Regions from separate parts of the Homo sapiens genome. Here region 1 is linked to region 2. Evidence: promoter capture Hi-C in 16 types of primary human blood cells and fetal thymus (Javierre and others, 2016). All regions are on one chromosome and are shown on one strand. The core of a region is centred on a gene start or on the middle of the fragment in contact, and the rest is flanking DNA. Distances in the headings are between cores, read along the strand shown. Region 1 overlaps PPM1F (protein phosphatase, Mg2+/Mn2+ dependent 1F). Region 2 holds the start of CCDC116 (coiled-coil domain containing 116).

Region 1 (5,890 bases), core at 523-3,022, 310 kb after region 2:
CCTTGGGGCAGGGGCTGTTACAAGAGGCTTATAGTCTAGTGGCAGAGACAAAAACCACACTCAAATCATTAGTGTACGGTATGCACTGCTCAGGGACTCAAATATGTGACAGGAGGCTCCAAACAAGAGCGGAGACAAGGCGTAAATAGCCCCCTGTGGACTGGATGTTCTGACTCCTGGATGGCCTCCAGAAGGATGCCTTTTACGGTCTGTGAAAGAGCTCAGGGACCAAGATGCTCAAAGCCCTTCATGCCCAAGAGCCCCTCCTCAGGCTGGGACACGGGAAGCAGAGCTCGGAGGTGGAACTCGTGACTGTGTATGGGCACATGTGAGTGCGTGTGTGTGGACAGCCAGGCTTAGTGTAGACAACGTGTGAGGCTCAGACCCCAAGTGCTGACTACACCTATGCACATCCACACCTGCGTGTGAAAGAAGATGCTAGAAAAGAACAAAAATAACTTAAAAAATAAATCCAATAAGATGGCTGGAACATATAACAACTTCAAATACTCCATTTTAGTTCACCATGTAAGGTGGGTTCCTGGGGGCTGAGGAGACTCGGGAGCTCTGCACCCCTCCTGCTCGCACCCATCACTAGGTGGCTCACACAGCAGCCGCTCAACAAGTCTGGCTGCTCTCGCATCAAAACCAAAACCCACTGCCCTCCCCTGCGCCCCCAGCACTGACCCCAACACTTTGGTTCGGGGCCCTCCTGGGCAGGTCACCTGCACTGCCTACTCACTCCTCAGCCCTCCAGGCCCTCCCACCTTGGATCCTTCCCTGGGACCCTGCTCTGCGCCCTTCTCCCCCTGCCCAGGAACTGAAGGCTGATGTTGTCACCCCGGTGCTGCGGCCTGTCCGTCTTCAGCACCTGTGCCCCACGCAGGCCCAGCAAACCCCTGGGCTCTGTTGTTCCCCGGGATGGCTTTTCCATCTGATCCCCAGCTTGGGGCTGGCACCGCTTGGCTTTGCCCGGTCACCTCATGCTTGGGCCAAAGTGCACCAACCCTTCTGTCCCGGGCCTGGCTTTTTGCCTCAAGGCAGCAATGGCCCCATGCCACCTCCACGAAGACCCAGTGGCTGCAGAACTCCCTGGTCTGGACTCCCCTGCTCCCTGCAGAGTGCCACCTGCTCCTCTCAAGAAGGCAGAACGTGAGGCCTTTCCTCACCTCCCGTGCATTGGCACCCCTGCTGGGCCCACTCTGCTCCACCACTGGGGGCTGATTCACTTTGTGCCACATATCTAAAATATTTCCTCAAAACAAGCCAATAACACCCTTTGCGCATGCCATGACCTCATGGAGCGTGGTCACCGGACATTTCCTCCTGAGCTCTAGGCAGCTGTGGGGGATGCTGGGTGGCATAGCCCTTGCATGTGGCTGACACTTAGCAATGTTTGTGCCCATGTTGCACAGGGAGAGCACAAGTCACTGACTCTGCTAGGGCCTGGGGTCAAGGAAAATAGGCCCTTGGTGGGTGTCAGGAACAGAGTTGATTCGCTGCAAGGGGCAAAGGAAGTGCACACTTGGGGGATACTGAGGCAGCCACCGAGGATGGTGGCTCTGTCAGAGGGAGCTATGGCTGAGGGCCTGTCATGGCTTCAGGTGATATTTCAGGTGATTTGGGTGATGCTGGGACTGGGGACCATGCGCACATCCCCTCAGCAAGGGACTAGGTTCACAGAAACAGCACGCGGCCCACCAGCCTGCTCACCTCCATGAGCTGTCCCCTGTGCCAGACAGACAGCCTAACTCCAAGACCCTGTCTGAGCAGAGAGGGTTCGAGAAAAGACCTTGTCCTTCACCATCTTTCATGGGACAAATGCTTCCAGAATGAATGAATAAATGAAGGGGAGGGCAAGGGTCTTCCAAGGAAAGGACCTCTGAGTTCAGCCTAGGCGACAGCTACACACTGTCTGCCGGTGGACACCCAACTCTCTATCTTCCCCGAAATCTGCTCGGCTAGTTGTGCTACCTCTCTGTGCCTCAGCTTCCTCACCTGTGGAAGGGGGACAGTGCCAGCTATCTCTCAGATCGTGGTGGCTGGGGTGCCATGTGGCTCTGCCACTCCTTGACTGTAAGGCCTCAGGCCAGCCTCTTCATCTACCCACCTCTGCCTCCTCGTCCATCACACGGATCGGAAACAGGACGTACTGCTTATCAGCTGCTATGCAATAAATTGTGTTCCCTAAAAGGTATGTTGAAGCCCCAGCCCCCTGTGGCTCAGAATATGATCTTATTTGGAGTTAAAGTCTTTGCAAATGTAATTAGTTATGTTCACATGAGGTCACATTGGCTGGAGTGGCTCATGCCTGTAATCCCAGCATTTAGGGAGGCAAAAACATGAGGATCCATGGAGCCCAGAAATTCGAGACCAGCCTGGGCAGCATAGCGAGACCCCATTCTCCACAAAAAGAAAGATGAGATCACACTGTAGGAGGGCAGCCCCTGGTCCAAAATGCCCATGTCCTTACAAGAGGAGGAGTCACAGACACACAGCAGGCAGGGTGGGGAGGTGTGAAGGCACAGACACACACATGGGGAGATGCCGTGTGCAACAAGGCCAGCTAGGAGGAATGAGTCTACAAGCCAAGGACCTCCAGGAAGTCAAGGCCAGGCACTAACAGAAAGGCAGACTCTTCCCTGCAGCCTTTGAGAGAGCATGGCGCAGCTGCCACCTTGATCTTGGACTCTGGCCTCCAGCCCTGTGAAAGAATGAGCTTTGGCTGTGTTGAGTGCCCAGTGTGTGGTGCTTTGCCATAGCAGCCACGGGAGTTCCACATGGTGCTGCATAGGGATCCGGGGCTGCAGATCCCCGTGTGGGGCTGGACGTGTAGGGGAGCAGCAGCCACATCCCTTGTCGGCCCTGGTGCCGTGCCCTTACTCCCCGTCCCCTTTGGGGGTGCACAGGCCTACCTGCTGCCCAGAAAGCCCATGGCCAGCTCAGCCAGCTCGCCCTCCACCTCCTCCTGGCTGAGCACCGTCCCTGGGGCCTTCCATGGCAGAGGGTCCTCTGGGTTCAGCAGGGCTGGGAAGTCTTGCAGGAGCGTGTCCAGGAAGCCTGGGGTCTCCTCAGCTCCACTGGCCATTGGGCTGCTCTTCTGTGGGGCTCCAGAGGACATGCCCAAAGCATCCCGGGGGCCTGCAGCTAGGCCAGGGCAAGAGGGTCTCCAGGCTTCACCCTGGGGAGAAATGTCAGAGTCAGCAGAATCAGGGGGCCATGGCACCAGCAATGCAGGTGCCCACCTGCAAGCACCATGTGGCAGGTGCATGGCCTCATGGTTCAGGGCCACTAGAGGGTGGAGGGACAACCCTGGCCACTGTTTTGACATGAGTCCAGGTGGGGACTTGTGGGCATCCAGAGATCCGGTCTCAGGAGATGGTGCCAGGAGCAGCAGCTGGGTGGACATTGTCAAGAAGTGACAGAGGAGGAAGACTGTTCCTGGCAGAGGGTGGCCAGCGTGGCCAGAGACGAGCAGGACAGGGATGCCGAGGCCAGGCACTGAGGTAGGTGAGGGGGTTCAACCTGATCACGGGTCCCGAGCAGCCAGGAGGGCTCTGAGGTGAGGGAGTGAAGCCACCAGGTCTGTGAGCCTGGACGTGGTGACCAGATGGCAGGAGGGACACCTGTTGGGGCTCTAGTGGTGTTCAGGGGAGGAAAGAGAAGGGCCAAGATGCGGGAGGCCGGCCCAGGGCTGTTTTGGAGATAGGCCAGAGTGGGAGCAGGAAGGGATCCCCAGAGGCTGCTGGGGCCACCCAAGGGGTGGCCAGGAGAGAAGCAGAGGTTTAATCTGGGACAGACAGGAGGTGCTGTGGGACACCATCGAGCCTATTCAATGCTCTCTAATAGGAGGAGGGAATTGTGAGCCTAGAATGGCTCAGGCCTGCTAAGCCCTGGCTGGAAGAGGGGCACTGTGGACAGTTCCAGGCGCTGACCCCACTGTGCGGCATGTGGGCTCTTCCTCCCTAAGTCCTTAGGGATGACCAGAGCTGACCAGCCCTGGGAGTTGCCCCTAACACCCCAGGAGCCAGGACAAGCCCCCATTTCACAGATGAGAATCCCAAGGTTTGGAGAGGGTTAGTCCCTCGCCTGAGGTGTCAGAAGGAAGACAGGGCCAAAGAGGGATCGCAAAGCCTGTGCCTTCACTCCCTCACCGGCTTCTCTCTCACTGGAAAGAGGCACATGGTGCCTCACAGCCTCCTCCCAGGGTGGCTCTGGCTCCTCTTCTCTCCTAACTCCGAATCTCCATAGTCGCCTCCCCAGCCTGCCTGCCTTGCCTATACCCAAACAGCTCTCCAGCGCCCCCCCTTCCATGTTCTTTGCGTCGCCCCGGGGATTCACCTCCAGGCCCCACACCTGGGCCTCCCTGCCAGCACCCACTCAGCATGGACCCTTCTCTCTCCTGCCCCCTTCCTCTCGGGTGCCTGACCCCTCCAAACCCTCCCCACAGCGGGGACTCCACCTTGGGCTTTGTCTAACACTCAGGCTGGGAAACTTTATTCAGCGAGTCCTACGCAGTAGTGGATGAGATTGGATCCAGAAAAAAATAAAAAAGAAATCCTACACAGTTACTAAGCCAGGGAGAAAAACTGCATTCTTTTATGGTGACAAACGGACATGAGACTCTGAGGAACACCCCGAGTTCTAGGGTGGAGAATTTGGGGAACAGTTTCACAGCCCATCACCTTCATGAGGACTTCCAGGTTCTGAAAACTGAACGAAGAAGGCAAGGAGAATCTTCTAGAATCATCAGTCTTAGAATAGCCACAGACTCTGCCTACAAACTTTGCTAAAAGGGCGGCTGTGGCAGGGGCCTGAGGTGCAGGATGAAGAGAGTGGGAAGTAAGAGATGCAGGGAGCTCACAGCCCACAAGAGGGCTGTCCTTATCAGGAATTGCTAACTTGGAACAAGCCTTCTGGAAGCCTAAAGATAAAAAACACAAAAGAGAATGGGGTGGGCAGAGGGAAAGGTCCCAGCACCAAGTTAAATGTCTGATCAGTGAGGGATTTGGAATGCAAGGGGTGAAGGGTGGTAAATTAACAAAACACAAAACCCTTCTCTTCTTTTAGAGGCAGAATTGAAAGGTAATTTATTTAAAGTGGACACATACAAATAACGTAGGAATAGGGGTGCTTGCTACTGAAGGTTCTGGGGATAGACTAAATTTATTGCTATGGTTCACATTTACTCACAAGTAGGAGTAAATTTAATGCAACCCAGGTTACAGAAGGCAAGCAGGTAAAAGGATAAAGAACATAAAACAACTGGCAAGGCGCTGTGGCTCAGGTCTATATCTCAGCGCTTGGGGAGGGTGAGGCAGGAGGAGTGCTTGAGGCCAGGAGTTCAAGACCAGCCTGGGCAGTGAGATCGCCACCCCCCCCCCACCCCCCATCTCTACCAAAAAAGAAAAAAAAAGAACATAAAGCAAAAAAGGAAAAATCACTTTGAGAGCAGGAGGGACACTGACATTCAAACGACAAAGGGAAGACTGTGAGCTGGAGAAATGAGCAGAGGCTGGGAGCCCTAGTAGGTCAATGAGGAGGCGGCACGTCCTGCCAGCCATGCCCCAGCAGAGCTGTAAGGCATTCGAAGATGGCGTGAATTTCCCAGCAAGCTTGGCTGCCCTCAAGCAGTGCAAGCGGCCAAGGGCCCCTCTTCTGCCTGGGACTGCCCTGGCCCCTGGAGCTTCTGGGAGAATGTGAACGATGCAGAGCTGCCCCCAGCAACTGCCAGTGCCTGGGGCCTCCTCCCACTCCCTTGCAATTCCAAGTGATCTGGAGGCTCTACTGTCTCACCACAAAATGTGCTCATGTGAATTTATGATTAGGATCCAAGTGAGAGGACAGCATGCTCCCCGCTAGAGCACACAGAGGGCCCCCCTGGAGAAAC
Region 2 (5,534 bases), core at 127-2,626:
CATAGAGTCCTTCAGCCATGCTCTTGGCATAAGGACTGATGTGTTTATAGTGACTGGTGAATTGTCAGACCTCAACCAACCACCGTTCTCCACTGGAAGCTGATCTTGGAAAGGTCAGAGGTCCCGAGGGTCTGCAGGTGGGAAGGAGGAGACTGACATTTATTGAGCACCTACTTGGTGCCAGACACTGAAAGTATTAGAGATTAAGGGTGACTTGCCTCTGTTCTGGCCCCAAAGAAGCACCATCTGATAGAAAAATAAGTAGCAACATGGTATGGTAGAGTCTGGAATGGGGTTTACTGTGAATTGCGTAGGGCGTGGCAGAATTCACAGTAAAAGGTTTTTGGAAGAAGTGACACCATGGTGGGGTATTACTGAGCAAAGGGGAAAAGGAGGGAGGGAGAGGAGGTAAGAATATACAAGGCTCCGCTGGGCGCGGTGGCTCAGGTCTGTAATCCCAGCACTTTGGGAGGCCAAGGCAGGCGGATCACAAGATCAGGGAATCGAGACCATCCTAGCTAACACGGTGAAACCCCATCTCTACTAAAACTACAAAAAAATTAGCCGGGCGTGGTGGCGGGCCCCTGTAATCCCAGCTGCTCGGGAGGCTGAGGCAGGAGAATGGCGTGAACACGGGAGGCGGAGCTTGCAGTCAGCCGAGATTGCGCCACTGCACTCCAGCCTGGGCGACTGAGCGAGACTCCCGTCTCCAAATAAATAAATTAATTAATTAAAGAATACACAAGGCTCCACTGGGTTACTGGGTGTGCTGTAGGGAGATTTTATTGAATCCCATACTCCCATATTGGAAGAACACTCAAGCCCATTTACAGTGTGGGACTAATGCTGAGAGGTTGAGTCACATTGGCAGGAAAGAGCAGAGCCAGGAACTGAAGCTAGGTCTGTGACTTAGAGCCGGCACTCTTTCCACTGCAGAGGGGAGAGGTCTCAAGGCAGAACCTGGGGCTGTGCACACCGCGGGAAGGGCAGAGGCCCCTGGAAACGAACAGGAGCAGGAGGCCCAGGGCTGCGCAGCAACCAAGGAGGACACGAGGAAGGTGCTTGTGCCACCGGTGGAAGACGTGGCTTTGGCTTTTAGGCTCCCCTCGGGGCAGGAGCAGATCAAAGAGCCTAGCCCCAGCTTCGGTGGTGGGTGGGGGGTCCTCCCGGCAGCGGGGAGCGTGGGCACCAGCATCCTCAGCCTGCGGCTCCCAGGCGAGTGTGGGAGGGCAGAGCCCAGAGAATTGGAGGTGGGGCCAATGTGGGCCCCGCCCCCAACCATTGTGTCGGAGAGGGAAGTGGACGAGCTCCTCGGTAAGAACCAATGAGGATGTGGTATGCAAATAAGCAAGTGGAGGCCGCCAGCCGACTTCCTCGCACTGTGCAGCTGCTCCAGTGAGGGCGCAGACTGTACTGGCCTGTGCGGAGCAAGGCGGTGTTTCTGGTGAGTCTGTTGATTCTGGGCTGGGGTGAAAGCCAGGTTGCCCAGGGTTTGGGAGGAGGGCGGGTCGAGCACACGCAGATCCAAAGATGATCGGAGACAGGATTGTCCTCAGCGATTCCACCCCGATGACTCTGGAAACTGCCTGCCTGCAGACGCATGGGGGCCATGGAGCAGAGGAAGGGCTGGATGCATGAAGGAGGCGGGGTGCGGGGAGCGAGGGACCCGCAGACTCCAGGGCCACAGATGCGTGGACCTATTGGAGACCCTCAGGTTGTCTCCCCACCCCACGCAGAGAGGAATGCGCAGCTGAAGAGAGAGGTGGGCAGCAGGCCCGGTCACCTGCCAGGTGACCACATGGCCAGGTGCCGCCACCACTCGGGTTACCTGGCCGATGACGAGGCCAGCCACTCCATGTGCAGTGCACGGGTAAGTGTGCCCAGCAGGGCGCCGACCCTTGAGGCCACAACATGTTCCCCACCAACCCTGGCACCCAAGACCACAACCCCCATTTCTCATTGTCTATTGACTTCTCTGGGCCTCTTAGTGAAGTCCTTATTGCCTTGACTTCTCCTATGTCCCCCACTGCTTGCCCCTGTCACACTCAATTTCATTCCTTGTTTCCTCCTGACTTCCAGCGACCCAGAAGGTGCTTGGGTGGACTGGGACCCTAGAGTGGGAGCATGGAGTTGACTAGGTGCCTATGGCTCAAGTTGGAGAAACAGGCCCGGGTAGCACAGGGCTCAAGACCTCAGGTGTTGTCTGCACTCAAGACCTCAGATGTTGTTTGCAGCCCTGCCATGGATACAGGGATGGCCTGCTGCATGGACAGATGAGGAGCTGGAGGGAGACTCCGAGAGATTCATGATTGCTCATCCTGCCACGTGTCAGGGCAGAAGCAGGCTTGCAGACTCCTTAGCCAGGACTTGTGTGTGTGAAATGTAGGTGTTAGGAAAGCTTCGGGGTGACCCTGAATAGACCTCCACTTTGCAGATGAGGACATTGGACCTCAAGAGGGGCCATCTTGCACACTGGCATCAGGCTGTAGGTGGCAGAGCCAGGGTCCAAACCCAGGGCTTCCAGACTCCAAAATGCAGCTCCTTCCACTACTCACTCCCACCCAGGTCCTAGTGTTACCCCAGGGAACCCTTCACCTGTAGGGCACCCCTGCCCCCTGTGACATACCTGTCTGCTCAGGTGCAGCTGCCCAAGAAGCCACTGGTCCCAGAAATGCGGCCAGCCTGCAAGCCGGGCCGTGTGCCACACCCACCATCCACATGTGGCAGCTCAGCACTCCAGGGCCAACGCCGAAACAAGAGGCACCCTCAGCCCTTTGGCCACTTTCTGGATTTCCTAACTGAGAGCCAGGTCCTGGACAGCCTGGAGACAGTGGTGGAGAAGGCGACTGAGCGCATGGCTGCCATGAAGACGGAGGCTGGGGTGCCGCTTGTGGAGGTGCAGGACCCAGTGGAGGTGCCAAGTGGTGGACGGCGGGCACATGCCCGGCCCAGCCTCAGCACCGTACACCGGCACCGTGTACGGCCGACCCTCTGCACTGGACACCCCAACAACTACCCATCCAGCTCCAGCTCCATGTCCAACTGCCATAGCAGCCTCATGGCCGGCTGTCTGGGCTCCCACAGCCGGGACAGTGACCTAGGTGCCCAAGGCTCATTGCCACCTGTGAGGGACAAACTCCTGCTGGAGAAGAACCTCAAGCGGCTGCTACAGCTGGAGAGGGAAGGGGTGAGAGCCAGGGCCATGGCTGGGTGGGGTGGACTCCCATGGAGAGCCCAGGGCTAGGGTCAGCCCTGGCTTGGCTGCTCCTGAACACTTCACAGAGTCACCCTCTTTCTGCAGAAAGGCCTCAGTCAGTCCTGCTCCCAGAGGGACTCCCTGCTGTGGGATTCGCTGGGTAGCCAGACCAGCTTTCAGTGGACACAGGAGCAGCCCTTGTCCTGGTTCTCAGGGCTGCTGGGCTCAAGCTCTGGCGTGCCTGAAGCATCAGAGCCGAGGCCTGGAGAACAGGAGCCAATCTTCCGCAAGCGAGAGTTCAATAAGGAGATCAAGTCATTACTGAGCCAGCTGGAGTCCCTCGACCTGCCTGGCTACTGTCCGCTCCGTGAGCCCCATCGCACGCTGAACTTCCTGGCTGACCACCGCCTCTTCCCTGCCCTGCAAAGCGTGGTCAGCCAGGCTGTGGATAAGCTCCGTGGCGCCCACTGCCGCGACGGCCGTCCTCTGTTCCCCACCAGCTTGGAGCCCACCTCAGATCTGCCGCCTCTGGGCTCTGAGCCAGCTAAACCCACCAATGGCGGGCAGCCCTATGCTTCCCCCCGCCCCACAGTCTCCAGCCCCAAGATGCTTCAGAGAAAACGCAAGGACAGAGGAGGCTCCCCCTCCATGTCTAGTGCCCAGGTGGCCACCAGATTCAAACTCAAGGTGACACCCACGGAGAAGCCCAATGTCCCCAGCCCCTCACTCCACTCCAGGGAGGAGGCACCTGACTCAGATCCCAAATTACAAAACCCACCTGTTTCCCTGAGCTCCAGCCAGAGGGCCCAGCCCTGGCAGGGCCTGCACCTCACCCTGCCCACGCCAGGGATTGTGGTGGAGGTGGCCTGCAGCCAGGGCCACCTCAGGGGCCCTGTCACACCTCCACTTTCCTCCCCCTACCCCCGCTCTTCCTGCTACCTTCTCCCTGAGCTCTCTCCAGTTGCCTCTTCATCTCCCGCCTCACTGTGTCCAGAGGTGACCTCCTCAAAAGTAGGACCGGGCATGAGTTTGCAGGAGAAGGGCTCCTTGACCCACCACTCCTAGCAGCCACTGTCACTAACAGGTGCTCAAGGTCAAGGTCTCTTGCCCTGCACTGTGGAAACCTCCTGGGCAGGGGTCAAGCTGATGGGGGCCCATGAATCCTGGCCTAGCTATTACCAGGTGTTGTCACAGATAAATAAAGGCTATTTTTTATGCTGGGTATTTTTTCTAACGTTTGTATGTGAATCTAGAGACGCTCCTACATGGGGGTGGAAAGTCCCGTCCCTTGTGGACAGCAGCCCAAGCCCAGCCGGGGCCTTGCCTCCTAGGTCTAGCTCCCTTGAATCCAGCTGCCTCGAGCAGGACTCTCCAGTCCCTGGACTTTGCTGAGGGGAAGTTGCCCAGGGAGGATGTGTACAAGACGTAGGTGGCCTCACACTGGTGGGTCTCCAGCACGGTCCCTCGACCCTTTCCTCAGCCATCAAGGCCCCTGCAGCTGTCTCTGGGCACAGGCCTGGGCAGGAGCCTGCCCAAACCCAGTTGTCAAGGCTCAGATTAGCCTTACCCTGTGACAGGTCCCTGCCCTTGCCCCAGGCCCAACAGTTGTAGGAGGTGTGATGGCGAGGTGAGCATGAGAGTGGGCAGTTGAGTGCAACAGCATAGCAGGTGTGGTAAGGCTGTACCCTTCGTGTGGCAAATGTGTTTGTCACACTAAGGGTACCCATTCATGTTTGTGATGGGCAGGGCTGGCAGGGCTCTGAGGAGGGCACAGTGGCTGGAAGGGGTGTCACAGAGGGATGGGGCTGGCAGGTGTGACATGTGTCCCTTTCCCTCCCCGGCTGCTATGCAGAGCCCCTGCAGCAGCAGCAGGTTCACGAAGAAGAAGCCGCTGCCCTCCATCTCGTCGAAGTCCAGCATGTCTCACTTCTCCAACCGCCTTTATGAGGAGCTCGCCGACTTCCTGACCCAGCAGGCAGCCTCCTTGGTCATCCGCAAGTACGAGTTCGAAAAGGACCTCAGTAAGCAGCTGGGCTTCTTCTCCTTCCCCATCACCCACGTGCTCAGGGACCTTTCCCTGGGCTTAAAGAAGGTAAAAGGCTCCCGCATCCACCTGTCCTCGGAGACCCACCGGAGCTGCCTGCTGCGTAAACTGGAGGAGTCCAAAAGGGCCCGGCAGGCCTCCCGGCTCAGCACCTCCCACTGCAGCACAGAGACACCCTCTGTGCAGCAGGAACCAGCCACCCACACTGCCCAGGACCAGGCCACAGAGCCCTGCCGCTCCCTCTACACCAACTTGCCAGCCAGCCGGCAGCTCAGCCCTTTGGAGCCCAAGCTC

Evidence for each region. The method cuts DNA at HindIII sites, captures the fragments that hold promoters and counts their contacts. A CHiCAGO score of 5 or more calls a contact.
Region 1: a fragment that was not itself captured here is called in contact with the fragment with the promoter of CCDC116 in region 2 in 2 of 17 cell types (neutrophils and erythroblasts); the score reaches 6.4 in neutrophils.

Annotation. Positions count from the first base shown.
Region 1 is chr22:21,942,928-21,948,817 of GRCh38, forward strand. It overlaps PPM1F (protein phosphatase, Mg2+/Mn2+ dependent 1F), which reads right to left. Exons shown (of 8, transcript NM_014634.4): 2 at 2,916-3,181. The coding sequence starts at 3,121. PPM1F-AS1 (PPM1F antisense RNA 1) reads left to right here. Exons shown (of 2, transcript NR_147620.1): 2 at 1-507. Among named protein-coding and RNA genes, the nearest start is that of PPM1F, 7.0 kb to the right of the region's middle. RefSeq lists an enhancer at 1,008-1,507. The HindIII fragment of the contact is 7,682 bases long and covers 1-5,613 here.
Region 2 is chr22:21,631,384-21,636,917 of GRCh38, forward strand. It overlaps CCDC116 (coiled-coil domain containing 116), which reads left to right and starts at 1,377. Exons shown (of 5, transcript NM_152612.3): 1 at 1,377-1,444; 2 at 1,737-1,870; 3 at 2,639-3,187; 4 at 3,302-3,883; 5 at 5,049-5,534. The coding sequence starts at 1,799. RefSeq lists an enhancer at 1,109-1,608. The HindIII fragment of the contact is 2,744 bases long and covers 1-2,396 here.